Regions from separate parts of the Homo sapiens genome. Here region 2 is linked to region 1. Evidence: promoter capture Hi-C in 16 types of primary human blood cells and fetal thymus (Javierre and others, 2016). All regions are on one chromosome and are shown on one strand. The core of a region is centred on a gene start or on the middle of the fragment in contact, and the rest is flanking DNA. Distances in the headings are between cores, read along the strand shown.

Region 1 (6,079 bases), core at 3,000-5,499:
TTTCCTTTCATCCAACAGAATTGTATTGACAAAAATATTTTCTTTGAATTATACAAAGACAGAAAGAGGAGGGAAAGATGAGATGAGTTGTCCTGAACCTCTGCCCCCAAATAACGAATTTGAAACAGAGACCAACGAAGTGCCCTCACTGAAAGCACTGCAAGGGCCATGATTATCTTTATACAGAAGAAACATGCAGCAAATATAGATGGGTATGGTGACTGTCCCCGCAGGTCATCTCCATCCCCAGTGCCAACCCCTACAAAACAAACCTCTGGGGCTTTCTACTGTGGGACACCCAATGTATAAACATCAGGGTGGCCCCAGTATAGGCGTCTTGTTGTGTCTGGAAGAGCCTGGCCATTTGTGCCAGAGGGAAAGCAGCCAGGCCCCACCTTCCCACCCCCAGGAGCTGTGGAGAGGAGAGGGAGGGGGCTGGTTTCTCCTTCTGTCCCCTCCTTCCTTAAAAACAGTGTATAAAAATTCCAATACAGATTTCTCCTAGAGAAAAAAAAAAAAAAGCCCTAACCTCCACACTACACATTTAACTGCGACAGACGGAGACATCTGGCAGAAGGGCGGTGGAGCCAAAAAAATTCCTATAAATTTAAATTCGATGATGGTTACAATTAACTCCACAACAAACGTGTACTTAAACAGAAAGCCGTTGCTGGGCGTTTGGACACAGCTCGAGCTGCACGTGAGAAAGGAGAGCTTCAGAGTAGCTATGGAATGTCCTCAGCTTGAGAATGTGAGGAGACTACGGCCATACTCTTGGCCCTGCCAGCGGAGAGGAGCTCCAGGCCGGCTAGCACCGGCCTATCTCACCTCTGCCTGCCTGTCCTCACCCGCTGGGCTCTGCCTGCCTGCCTCCTCCTCCTCCGCCGCTGCCATGGGAGCATGGAGGATTTTAAGAGGAGAGGGGTTAATAAAAGGGTCAAATAAAATCATAATATTGAACAGAATGAAATTTATCTTTATTTGCCACCAAAAAAATTTCACAGCAATCCCTCTGGGAAGGGAGCAGGGTGGGGAGTGCACATGTACACACGCACTCACGCAGAGGAGTAGAGATGCGTGATTTGAATCTCACTGGGGGCGTCCCCCCCTTTCCCTCCAGGTGGAAAGAAACGCTTGGGAAATTTATTTACAAAAATCCAGGCCCCAGCACGGGGGAGGTGCCCAATCCCATCTCCCTACTGCCTCCACCACCCCAATCTTCAATTTTCTTAAAAAAAAAAAAAAAAGAGGTAACGACTGCATAGACTATAGCTATAAATCCATGAAGTGGGGCACTGCTTGGAAAAAGATGTGGAAACCTCAATGCACCGATTAAGAAATTTCAAAGGAAGGTTCTACACATTCAGGGGGAGAACAACTAGGCTCGGGCGGGGCCTTGGCGAAGACGGAGGTAGGACACGGACTTTGCACACCTAACACCAGGTTGAAGGTACAGAAATTTCACAGCAAGGCAGGATCACATTTAGCTGCAAGGTGGGGCGGGGTAGAGGGGGGAGCTCGAGAAGTTTCCGCTGGCAGACATGCTGTCTTAGCGGATCTTTTCACATGGGCAAGGGAAGGCTTTTAGTTCGAGGATTGTTCGGCTCAGGCGCTCACTACTGTCGCCCCTCCCCCACCTAATCCGAGCAGCAAGACATTGTCGCCGAGGTGTGTTTTCTTTTAAATCAAAGTCTTGGCCTCGGCGCCAACGGTGTTCACTCGCCGTGCATCAGACACTTCCCTTCACCCCCTTTCCAGGCCCGGTCCCTGTCCCACAGCGAGAGTCAGATAGAGGGTCCAGGAGGTTCCGGAATGGAGTGCCGGCCACAGCGGTGGGGGCCAGCCCTGGCCACAGTCCAGTTTTCCACCGGCGGAAAGAAGACGAGTTAGAAAATAAAAAATAAAAATAAAATAAAATAATTTTCCCCTCCCCCCGCCCCCAAAAGGGCCCGGTCTGCAGGTTACAGCAGAGGATTTCCCGAGAAATACTGCAGCCGGTCTCTGCTCAGTTTCTTTTCTTTCATCCTTCTGTTCTGAAACCAAATTTTCACTTGTCGGTCCGTCAGGTTCAGCATCCGGGACAGCTGCAGCCGCTTCTCTTTGTTGATATACACGTTGAAGAAAAACTCTCGCTCCAGTTCCCGGATCTGGAATTTCGAATAAGGGCAGCGCTTCTTGCGGGTGCGGGGGGCGTCTGGAGGGAGGGGAGGGGGCAAGTGCGAGGAGAGGGGGGAGAGAGACACGTGAGACCCGGGCGACCCCAGCCCGCTGAGCGCTCAGCGGCCCTTCTCCTAGCCCACCGCGGGCAGCCCTCCCGCCAGGCGGCTGGCTCTCCTGCAGCCGCAGCACCCGGGCAAGCCTCGACCCCCTGCCAGGTCTAGCGGGTCCCCACCCCCCCGCCACTGCGCCACCCCGTCCCCAGTTCTCAGGCGAGAGCCGCGGCTGACAGGGTCTGGGACAGAAGGAAAGCCCTCCAGGTACACGTGCGTCCCCTCGGGCCCCCTGTCTGCTCCCCCTCCGCCCTCGGGCCCTTCCTGGGCCGCCCTCCTAGTGGTTCGGAAAGCCCAACCCCTCCCCCAGAAATCTGGGGGGAAAGCTGAGAACAGGCGCGAAGCAGTGAAATCTGGCGAGAGCAGTCGGGAGGCGGGGAGGAAGCCGGCCAGCAGGCACCGAGACACCAGAGAGCCGCTTCCGGGGCCCTGGCGCCCCGGGAAGCCCGCGGGGCAGCGCCTTCCACACCGCAGTTCTAGGCAAGCACTAAGGCCGCGGACCCGGGAGAAACGCCCAGACCCCCGCCTGGAACGCAGTGGAGTCCTGCGCCGCCTCGCCCCATTCCCCTGTCGCCGCTGACCCCAGAGTTGCTTGGGTTTCTGCTCGAGGACCCGCGAACACATAGTTTGAACATTTTCAAAACTAGTTTTAAGAAGGATCATAGCGGTCCTGGCTTGCCTCTCCGGTCTCAGGTTCTGCTCCATTGCTCCTCTCCCCCACCTCTCCCCCTCTCTGGATCTCTCCCTGTCTTTCCCTCGCCCTCCCCTTTCTCCCCCTCCACCCCTCCCCTCCTCCCCACTCCTCGGCAGCCCGGCTCCCCATACTTCCTTAAATGCTCCTCTAAGTTCACGATCAAAGTTAATATCGCCCGCAATGGTTGCGCTTTTAAAAATTTCACAGACCGAGGGAGATAACGGGGGAGGGGGGTTCACCCGGCTTTTCCAAAGAGCCCTTTTCCCTCCCTCCCCACCCCTTCTCCATCGTAAAAAGTCGAGTCGTTGGGAGAGAGGGCTTTGTAGGTTATAATAAAATCCTTTGAATGCTTATAAAACTCCACATAAAATCGGACTGACCCAAAACACGAGGCCGTCCCCGCTCCCCTTGCCTCCCCCCTTCTCTCGCCCTCCCTCTCTCGCTCCCTCCCTCGCTGCCCGCCCGTTCCCCGGCCGCTGCTACCTACTGGGGGCGGCTCCTTTGGCCGGCTCCTTGGCCACGGAGTGGGCTGAACCGGACGAGCTGGGATTTGTGTTCTCCTCCTCAGCCTCCGCCTCGGCACCCGCCTCAGCCCGGGACGCCAGTCCCGAGGCCGGGGGTGCCTCGGGCTCCCCCTTGGCCTCGCCCTTGCCGGAGCAGGGGGGCTCGGCGGGCGGGTCGCCGCCACCGCAGTAGGCGTTGTCGAAGAAACGGTCGAAGGCTTGAGGCAGGACGCTGTTCTTGTTGACTGAGGAGTAGAAGCCGGCGGGGGTTGCGTGCGGGGCGCTGGGGTGGTGGTGGCCGCCGTAGGAGCCTTCGTTTTTCATGAGGATCTCGGTGACGGTGGAAGGAGGCAGGCACTCCCGGTGCATAAGCTCGTCGGCCGCCGCATAGCAGGAGGAGTAGCTGTTCCGATGGTGCCACTTGCCGGATGGCTCCAGGCCGTAGGAGACCTCCCGGACCGGGGGCACTTGGGCCGAGTAGGGATAGGAGATCTGACGAGAGGGGGCCTGGGGCAGGAAGGAGGAGACCGTGGAGAACTCGGGCATGTAGTAAGTGCAACTGGGCAGATAGAGGTTGGAGGCGCAGCTCCCTCGCTCGCCGAAATCTGCGCCCCTCTCCTTGCGCGACGGAGAGCAGAAGTTGCCCAGGTTGACCGAGTTAAACATCGTTCTCCTCTCCTGCCGGCTCCGGATGGAGGTTTTGGACCCGGTCTAGCGAGGGGGGAAAATTTGGGAAGGCGAGATGACGCGTTATCCGTCTTAGTCTCTCTCTCTCTGAGCACGTGATCCAAAGTAGATATTGTCATATATCAGTTCGGAGCACTTCGCAGACGTAGGAGGGGTTCTCTCTTAGGTAAGATCGGGGACGTTCAGGCGATTGGTTTGCAAACACCGCAGAAACATTATGAAAATCAATTGCAGATTTGTATTCGTTTTTCTCTCGTCACTCCCCTTCTCTCCATACCACAGCACGAGCAAAGGAGGAGAGAGAGGGTTGGGGTGGGGTGGGCGGTGGGATGGGCGAGGGTGGTGGCTGGGAAGGGGTAATTGTATTTTTTTCTAGCTGCTGCTCTTTTTTCCCCCAGGATTGGGGGAAGGAGGAGGGCTCTCATGTATGGGGGTCTTGCCTCCTCTCTGTGAGCAGCACCAGGAGGGTGGGAGTGAGGACTTCTTTCCCCACTGCCTGATTTCCCCAGAGAAGTGAATCCTTTCCCTTAAATCTCAGGGACTCTTACCCTTCCAACCCGCAGAGACACCGCCTGTTCACAAGAGTTTGAAGAAGTCCACTCTTTTCCTGGCCAGAGCTGGGTGTCAAGACTACCTTTCTGGAGTCCTTAGAGAGACTCCCGGAAGAGTATCTGAAGTTTCCCAAAGGTGAGGCAGCCCAGCTGCAAGCCAGTGTCCCAACTTTGTCTGGCTTGCTGTGCTGCCCCTGGCTAGGGAGTCAGATTAGTCATAAACGAGTGGTGAGCAGTGCGCCAGCCGCCCAGCCGGTGCCTGGCGAAGTCTGGGAAAAACCTTCTCTAATGTTGTGTTAAATATTTAGTATGAGAGAGTGGCCCTGGGTGAATATTTCATGCCTGCCTTTATTGTCAATCAATGTGAAGAAAGCTACATCCACTGTGGATTTTCAAATCCCAAACCCCAAAGAAAAGGATTGGAATGAGAGCCATGTATCTTCTATGTCAGGGCCCTTTGGCTTAGTGGCTCAGCCTCAGCTAGTGCGCTGAAAAGAAGCCTAGTGTAGGGGTCCAGGAAGAATATGGTGGGGGGGACTAGGTTTGGGGTTCTTATCCTTGGATGATTTTGAGGACTGTAAGGTGGGTGGTGGGGCCAGGTATGGGTCTCCAGAAGAGACTAACCAGACAGTGGAAAGGAGCGGTGGATGCTGTGGCATCAGGGGAGGCCCAGCGGCCACTCCCTAGTCAAAGCCCCCAGCCTCTGTCCCTGGGGCTGTGACCAGATCTTAGTGCCTCCTTCCTATTTCTCAGCCCTGTCCTGCCCTCCTACAAGTCTGTCAGCCTCCTGGATAGCTGTAGCCCAAGAAGTAGGCTCAGTCATTCTGCATCCCCAACCCCTTGCCTTCCATCCCTCTGAGCACCACAGGACACATGTGGGCATCTGAAAATCACTTTATTGAAAGGTTCTGGACTGGGTCCAAGGGGCCAAAAGCAACCAGCATGAGCTGAAAGCAACCTTGGATCCAAAGAGGAGCTGCCAGGGCACAATTTGTTTGGGAAGGAGGGGAAGAACCGAAGCCCCCAAGGGCTCAGCCCAATGCACACTCAGGGGAAAACAAAAAATAGCCCGAACTCTCTTTACATCCATAACCCTCAGTTAAAATTAGTTTCCACTTAAAGAAATTAGAATGGATTTGTCTTGATGAAACATGATAAGGTGCTGCGGCTCCCAAACCAGATAAGGAGGACACAAAAAATTGTAGCTTGTCTCCATATGTAACCCCTAAAATCCATTCCTCCTCAATGCTCCTGCCTCCTCAAACTTGCTCAGCATTTAAGTGACACCTGAGTGGAGTCTGCCTCCACCATGGGTCCCATTCTCAGGGTGGTTCTGGAATACTCAGGGATAGGTCTCAGGTGCCCCTCTACGCA
Region 2 (6,400 bases), core at 2,472-4,971, 210 kb before region 1:
CTAAGGGACACCCAGATAGCTGGTAAAACATTATTTCTGGATATGTCTGTGGAGTGTTTCTGGAAGAGATTTGCATTTGAATTGGTAGACTAAGAAGATCACCCTCATTAATATGGGTGGGAACCATCCAATCCCTTGGGGGCCAGTAGAACAAAAGAGTGGAGGAAGGCAAATTCTCTTTCTTCATGAGCTGGGACATCTATTTTACCTGCCTTTGGACATCATTGGAGTTCCTGGTTCTTCGTCCTTCAGGCTCTGGGACTTAGCAGTGAGCCTCCTCCCCTGCTTTGGACTTTCCTGAATTATACCACCTGTTTTCCTGGTTCTCCAGTGTATAGACAGCAGAGCGGGAGACTGTGGGACTTCTTGGCCTCCACAATCCTGTGAGCCAATTCTTGGAATAAATCTCGTCATATAGATAGATATCCTGTTAGTTCTGTTCTCTGGAAAACTCTTGACTAATACTGAGGTTATAGGGTTGGGCAGATAGCAAGGCAGAGAAAGAAGTCAAAATGGTGACACTCTGGAGATGGGCTTGGACAGTAATGGGGGATGCCCCTTGCTAAAAAGTTGTTAGGAGCTACCAGAAATGTCTTCGTGGATGTTCTGTATAAGTAATGGCAGGCTGCAAAGGAGAAGTCTCTTATACCCACGGTGGCAGGGGGCCTAGCAATGGTCTTTAGCTATTGTTAATACCTTCAGGTGGGTGAGGGATTGGGGATGGTTGAAGCTTCCTGATTTGCAATCCCTTTGGGAAAATAGTGAATGAACTTTTGGAAGGGCGATGCCCTTTAGGGATAGAACCCAGGATTTCCTAGGTACTTACAGGCTGTGGCTTTTCACTTCTCAAGACTTCCTGATTTAACGCTGATGGAAAGATTAAACTACAATTCCCAGCGATCTTTAGGGCTAATTTAGTGCGCCTTCCGGGATTGGAGCATTTCCGGCGGAAGTGGCTGCGGGTACGCCAATCTCCTTCCCTAAACAATGTAGACTACGACTCCCACTGTCCTTAGCGCCGGGGGTTGGGTTTGGGGTGGGGGAAAGGAACCGGAAACGGGATGGGGAGCTGGACCAGGTGAGGAAGTAGGGGGCTGGGAATCCGGGACTGTGGGGGCAAGTTGACGGCTCCCAGGGTCGTCGGGGCTGAGCCGAGAGGGTGGTTAGAATTTCTATATTTTGGGGTCCCTCCCTCCGTATGGGGTAAGACTCAGTGCAGGGAGAGCCCAGCCTATGAAACCGCCTGGGAGGTCTGCAGGATCAAGGCTTTCCAGTCGGCCGGAGCCAGCGGGCGCCCCCGGAGGTTTTGTATGGTGCCTTAGTAGTCGGCCCCTTTGGAACCAGATGAAATGGTCTTTTTGAGTTTATGCTTTATTATTATTATTGTTTATTTATTTATTTTTCTGAGACGGAATTTTGCTCTGAATTCCAGGCTGGAGTGCAATGGCGCGATCTCAGCTCACTGCAGCCTCCGCCTCCCGGGTTCAAGCGATTCTTCTGCCTCAGCCTCCCGAGTAGGTGGGATTACAGGCGCGCGCCACCATGCCCAGCTAATTTTTGTATTTAGTAGAGACTGGGTTTCACCATGTTGGTCAGGCTGGTCTCGAAGTCCTGACCTCGTGATCCGCCCGCCTCGGCCTCCCAAAGTGCTCGGATTACGGGTGTGAGCCACCGCGCCCGGCCTATGCATTATTATTATTATTATTATTATTATTATTATTATTATTATTATTTATTATTATTATTATTATTATTATTATTTCGTTTAAGGATATTTATTATTGTCCCTGGACTCCCGGAGTGCCTCCAAAGGACAGGGGAGTGCATATGTGATTTCGATTCCTTCCTCACTTCCCGGATTTGATGTCAGAGAAGTCTGACATCAGTCTGAAGTCGGCCCTTGGTGGTCAGCCTTATCGCTTGGTCCAACTCCGCTGTCTTTGTGCTTAATGTAGTATGACACCGTATTTTATAAAATATCTACATTTCTTAAGCCTCTGGCTCTTGGGGCGACTTTGGGTAGAACTTACAAGTTCCTCCTTTGGGTTCTCTTAGTGTTTTGTTCCGGGTATTAAAGCTCACATCACACTGTATTACAGTTAGTTGTTTATTTGCCCTCACAGCAGATTATGAGCTTACAGAAAGCCTGGCCTACATTTTACTCTTTTTGGATTTCTTCCTCATCAAGAGACTGCTGCAGTGCCTGTCATGTAAGAGACTCATAAGTATTGAAAAAAAAAATGAGTTAACAGGTGGTAGGTTGGATGGAGTATGTGATTTTCCATAGAGAAGAGAGTTAAATGAGTTGCTCAAGAGAACCTTCTTAGAGATGAAACAGGAGTAGAATTCAAATCAATTGACTTCCAGCCTGTGGCTCTTGCTATGAGATCAGGCTTTGAAGTTATGGAACAATGAAAGTAGTATCTTGCCACTCTTTTCCCCAGCCTTGCTGTTTCCAACACAGGTGTCTAAATGTCAAAGGTGGGCTCAAGACTTCTCGAGATTCTAGAGCTGGAGCAGCCAATCTGCTAATGTTGGTGTTGCATGGGGAGATGCAAAGCAAGGTCCCCTGAAACACTGGCGTTCTCCACAGCACCCTTCTCAGCTTTTGTATGAGCCCAGTTTGTCCTGGGTAGCCACCTGGACAACAGATCAGTTAAAGACTACTGAGACAGTCAGGGAAGGACTTCCTAAGTTGGGCCTCTGATTTCTTTTCTCTCCCACTTCCCCTAGGCTAGGGTGAGAAAATAGGTTTATCGAGCTGTTGTGTCAACCTTGAGTTCTTATCTTGGAGAAGTCACTCCTGACCCAGGCAGAAAGTTGAGAGGAAGGAATGACAATGGTCCTTGTCGCATGGGAGGCACACATATGATGGGCACAGACCCAGAGTCTGGAAAACAAGCAGAGTGCAAAGTGGGCAGCTAAGCCTTGAGTGAACTCAGGATATAGAAGTGGAGAAGGATCCATCAGGAGTGCCTCCTTGGTAAAAGCTGTTTATTTTATTTTTATATTTACAGATGGGGTCTCATTATGTCAGCCAGGCTGGTCTTGAACTCCTGGCCTCAAGCAATTCTTCTGCCTTGGCCTCTCAAAGTGCTGGGATTACAGGCATGAGCCACTGTGCCCAGCACAGAAGGTAGTTTTAAACAAAAGTGAAAAAGAAGATGGACATTGCTGAGCAGGTGTTTGTTGAGTACCTAATAAGGGCCAGGACCTTGGGCTTATGGAGGGAGATTGAACAAGGCCTGGCTCTTGATCTGCCCAAGTTTAGCTGGGGAGGCAAAAGGAATTCATTAAGACGACGGTAACCATGGTGACACACAGTGGTTCTCAGCCTTCACCAACCATCAGAATCACCCTGGGAAGCTTGTTTAAAATACAGATTCCCAGGCTGGGCACGGTAGCTCACGTTTGTAATCCCAGCACTTTGGGAGGCTGAGGCAGGCAGATCATGAGGTCAGGAGTTCGAGACCAGCCTGACCAACATGGTGAAACCCTGTCTCTACTGAAAATACGAAAATTAGCCGGGTGTGGTGCTGCGCACCTGTAATCCCAGTACCCAGGAGGCTAAGGTGGGAGAATCACTTGAACCCGGGAGGCAGAGGTTGCAGTGAGCTGAGATCGCGCCACTGCACTCCAGTCTGGGCGACAGAGCAAGATTCTGTCTCAAAAAAAAAACAAAACAAAACAAAACAAAAAACACAGATTCCCAGGCCTCACACGGGACCTACTTGTGTTGGGGGTGGGGTTGGGACACTATGGCAAATACTGCAGTGTTCTGAGGAGGGAAGACTTTATCAAAGGGATGGTTTGAGCTGCATTTTGAAGGATGGGAGTGATTTGGATATGTGGACAGGTTGGGGAATCAACAGTCCTAGTTGACTGGATGACTGCTGGATGATGTCCTGGTTGACTTCAGGAGTGTATTTGGTTGGACTGTAGAAATGGTATGTGCAAGGTTTTGGGAGTTGAGGCAGGAAAGGCATTTTGAAAATGTGAGTAGAATGGTCAGGTTGGAACACTGGGTTTGAATGGGAGTGGAGTGAAGCAATGGCCTTTGCAGTTTACAAAGCTTGCTGTCATGTTCCTGCCCCCTCCCTTCTCCTTCCTCCCACCTCCCTTCTCTCTTCCCTTTCTTCTTCCTCTCCCATTTCTTTTCTCCCTTCACCTAAACATAACATCTCATTCCATCCTTACGTCTGTTTGTTTGTTTTGAGACAGTCTCCCTCTGTAGCCCAGGCTGGAGTGCAGTGGCACAATCTCGGCTCACTGCAACCTCTGCCTCCCAGGTCCTGGTTCAAGCAATTCTCCTGCCTCAGCCTCCCATGTAGCTGGAATTACAGGCACGTGCCACCATGCCCAGCTAATTTTTGTATTTTTAGTTGAGACGGGGTTTCACCATGTTGGCCAGGTTGATCTTGAACTCCTGACCTCGTGATCCACCTGCCTCAGCCTCCCAAAGTACTGGGATTACAGGCATGAGCTGTTGCGCCCGGCAAATTTATTTATTTATTTATTTATTTATTTATTTATTTATTTATTTTTTATTTTATTTTTTTTTGAGATGGAGTCTTGCTCTTTTGCCCAGGCTTGAGTGCAGTGGCACGATCTTGGCTCACTGCAACCTCAGCCTCCCGGGTTCAGGCAGTTCTCCCTGCCTCAGCCTCCCGAGTAGCTGGGATTACAGGTGCCCACCACAACGCCCAGCTAATTTTTTTTTTTTGAGAGAGAGTTTCACTGTTGTTGCCCGTGCTGGAGTGCAATGGCACGATCTTGGCTCACCGCAACCTCCACCTTTCAGGTTCAAATGATTCTGCCTCAGCCTCCAGAGTAGCCGGGATTACAGGCACGTACCACCATGCCTGACTAATTTGTATTTTTAGTAGAGGTGGGAGTTTCTCCATTTTGGTCAGGCTGGTCTCGAACTCCCGACCTCAGGTGATCTGCCCACCTCAGCCTCCTAAAGTGCTGGGATTACAGGCTTGAGCCACCACGCCCAGCATGCCCAGCTAATTTTTGTAATTTTTAGTAGAGACGGGGTTTCGCCATGTTGGCCAGGCCAGTTTTGAACGCCTGACCTAAGGTGATTCAGCCGCCTTGGCCTCCCAAAGTGCTGGGATTACAGGCATGAGCCACCATGCCTGGCCTTCCTTATGTCAACATTATTAAGTGGATATTATTATTCTTTGTATTTGAAGGTGGAAACCTGAGGCTCTGGCCATGGTTGTGTAGCTCGTAAGATTCTATGAGGAGTCTGTAATCATCCTACTCGGTATTCCTGAGTGTGGGAAAGAAGCTAGGCTGGGGTTAGGGGGTTGTAGAATTAGCAGGGTGGCTGATCAAACCATCTAAGGCAAGATGGCGTGGGTGGTTAAAGCATAGCCTTGAGCCAGAGAGATTGGGCTCAACCAAATCCAGCTTTATTACTTACTAACTGTAAGACCTTGGGCAAGTTGCTTAATCTTGCTAAGCCTCAGTGTCCTCACTTATAACAGGGGAGCAGTAATACCCACCTCATGGGATTGTTGTGAGGATCAATGAGGTGTACCTGGTGCAGAGCAGTCGCTCACCACCTGGAAGCTATTGTAATTAGCCTTCCCAGGTCTCTGGGCTGTGGCTGTGCACTTGCATTTCATTCTTCAGCGCCGTGCTTTCCAGAACAGTCCATTCTGGCTGGGCTTTTCTTTTTTAGGATGACCTTAAAGGTGCTGAAAGGATGCCACCAGTAAATGTTTATTGAAAACCTACTATGTGCTCGGCATAGCCCAGGAACTAGTGACCTATGCCTGATGGAAAGGAGATTTGGAGTGGGAGATGTTTGGTGGCTATGGCTTATCCTCACCAGGTGCCATGTGAAGAGGACAGATAATGGAAGTGGGGAGGGAAAGGGCCCTTCATTACCAAGAACTGAGATGAGTTCAGTCCTACTTGGTGGTTGGTAGATGACTGACATGGTCTCTTAGGGTCCCTTCTGAGCCCAGGAAATGGTAGTGGGGGCCCTGGCAAGCATGGATCCCTCCTACTCTGTGGCTGAGGGTTGATGGGGCTTCTGTCCATCTCTTTTCCCAGGTGACAGCGGCATGGACATATGCCCCAGGCTTTCCTGCTGGGGTCCATCCATGAGCCTGCAGGTGCCCTCATGGAGCCCCAGCCCTGCCCTGGAAGCTTGGCTGAGAGCTTCCTGGAGGAGGAGCTTCGGCTCAATGCTGAGCTGAGCCAGCTGCAGTTTTCGGAGCCTGTGGGCATCATCTACAATCCCGTGGAGTATGCATGGGAGCCACATCGCAACTACGTGACTCGCTACTGCCAGGGCCCCAAGGAAGTACTCTTCCTGGGCATGAACCCTGGACCTTTTGGCATGGCCCAGACTGGGGTAAAGGGTTTGGCTTCCCCAGTGGGT

The links. The method cuts DNA at HindIII sites, captures the fragments that hold promoters and counts their contacts. A CHiCAGO score of 5 or more calls a contact.
Region 2: a contact is called between a fragment that was not itself captured here and the fragment with the promoter of HOXC11 in region 1, in 1 of 17 cell types (activated CD4 T cells). The highest score is 5.3, in activated CD4 T cells.

What each region holds. Positions count from the first base shown.
Region 1 is chr12:53,971,296-53,977,374 of GRCh38, reverse strand. HOXC11 (homeobox C11) reads right to left here and starts at 4,249. Exons shown (of 2, transcript NM_014212.4): 1 at 3,452-4,249; 2 at 1-2,194. The coding sequence starts at 4,133. The coding sequence ends at 1,962. HOTAIR (HOX transcript antisense RNA) reads left to right here and starts at 2,421. Exons shown (of 7, transcript NR_186241.1): 1 at 2,421-2,477. RefSeq lists enhancers at 1,949-2,098, 2,429-3,023. The HindIII fragment of the contact is 12,279 bases long and covers 1-6,079 here.
Region 2 is chr12:54,183,629-54,190,028 of GRCh38, reverse strand. It overlaps SMUG1 (single-strand-selective monofunctional uracil-DNA glycosylase 1), which reads left to right and starts at 1,044. Exons shown (of 4, transcript NM_001243787.2): 1 at 1,044-1,078; 2 at 2,127-2,210; 3 at 6,070-6,373. The coding sequence starts at 6,089. It overlaps LOC105369777 (a long non-coding RNA gene), which reads right to left and starts at 932. Exons shown (of 3, transcript XR_944984.2): 1 at 827-932. The HindIII fragment of the contact is 706 bases long and covers 3,369-4,074 here.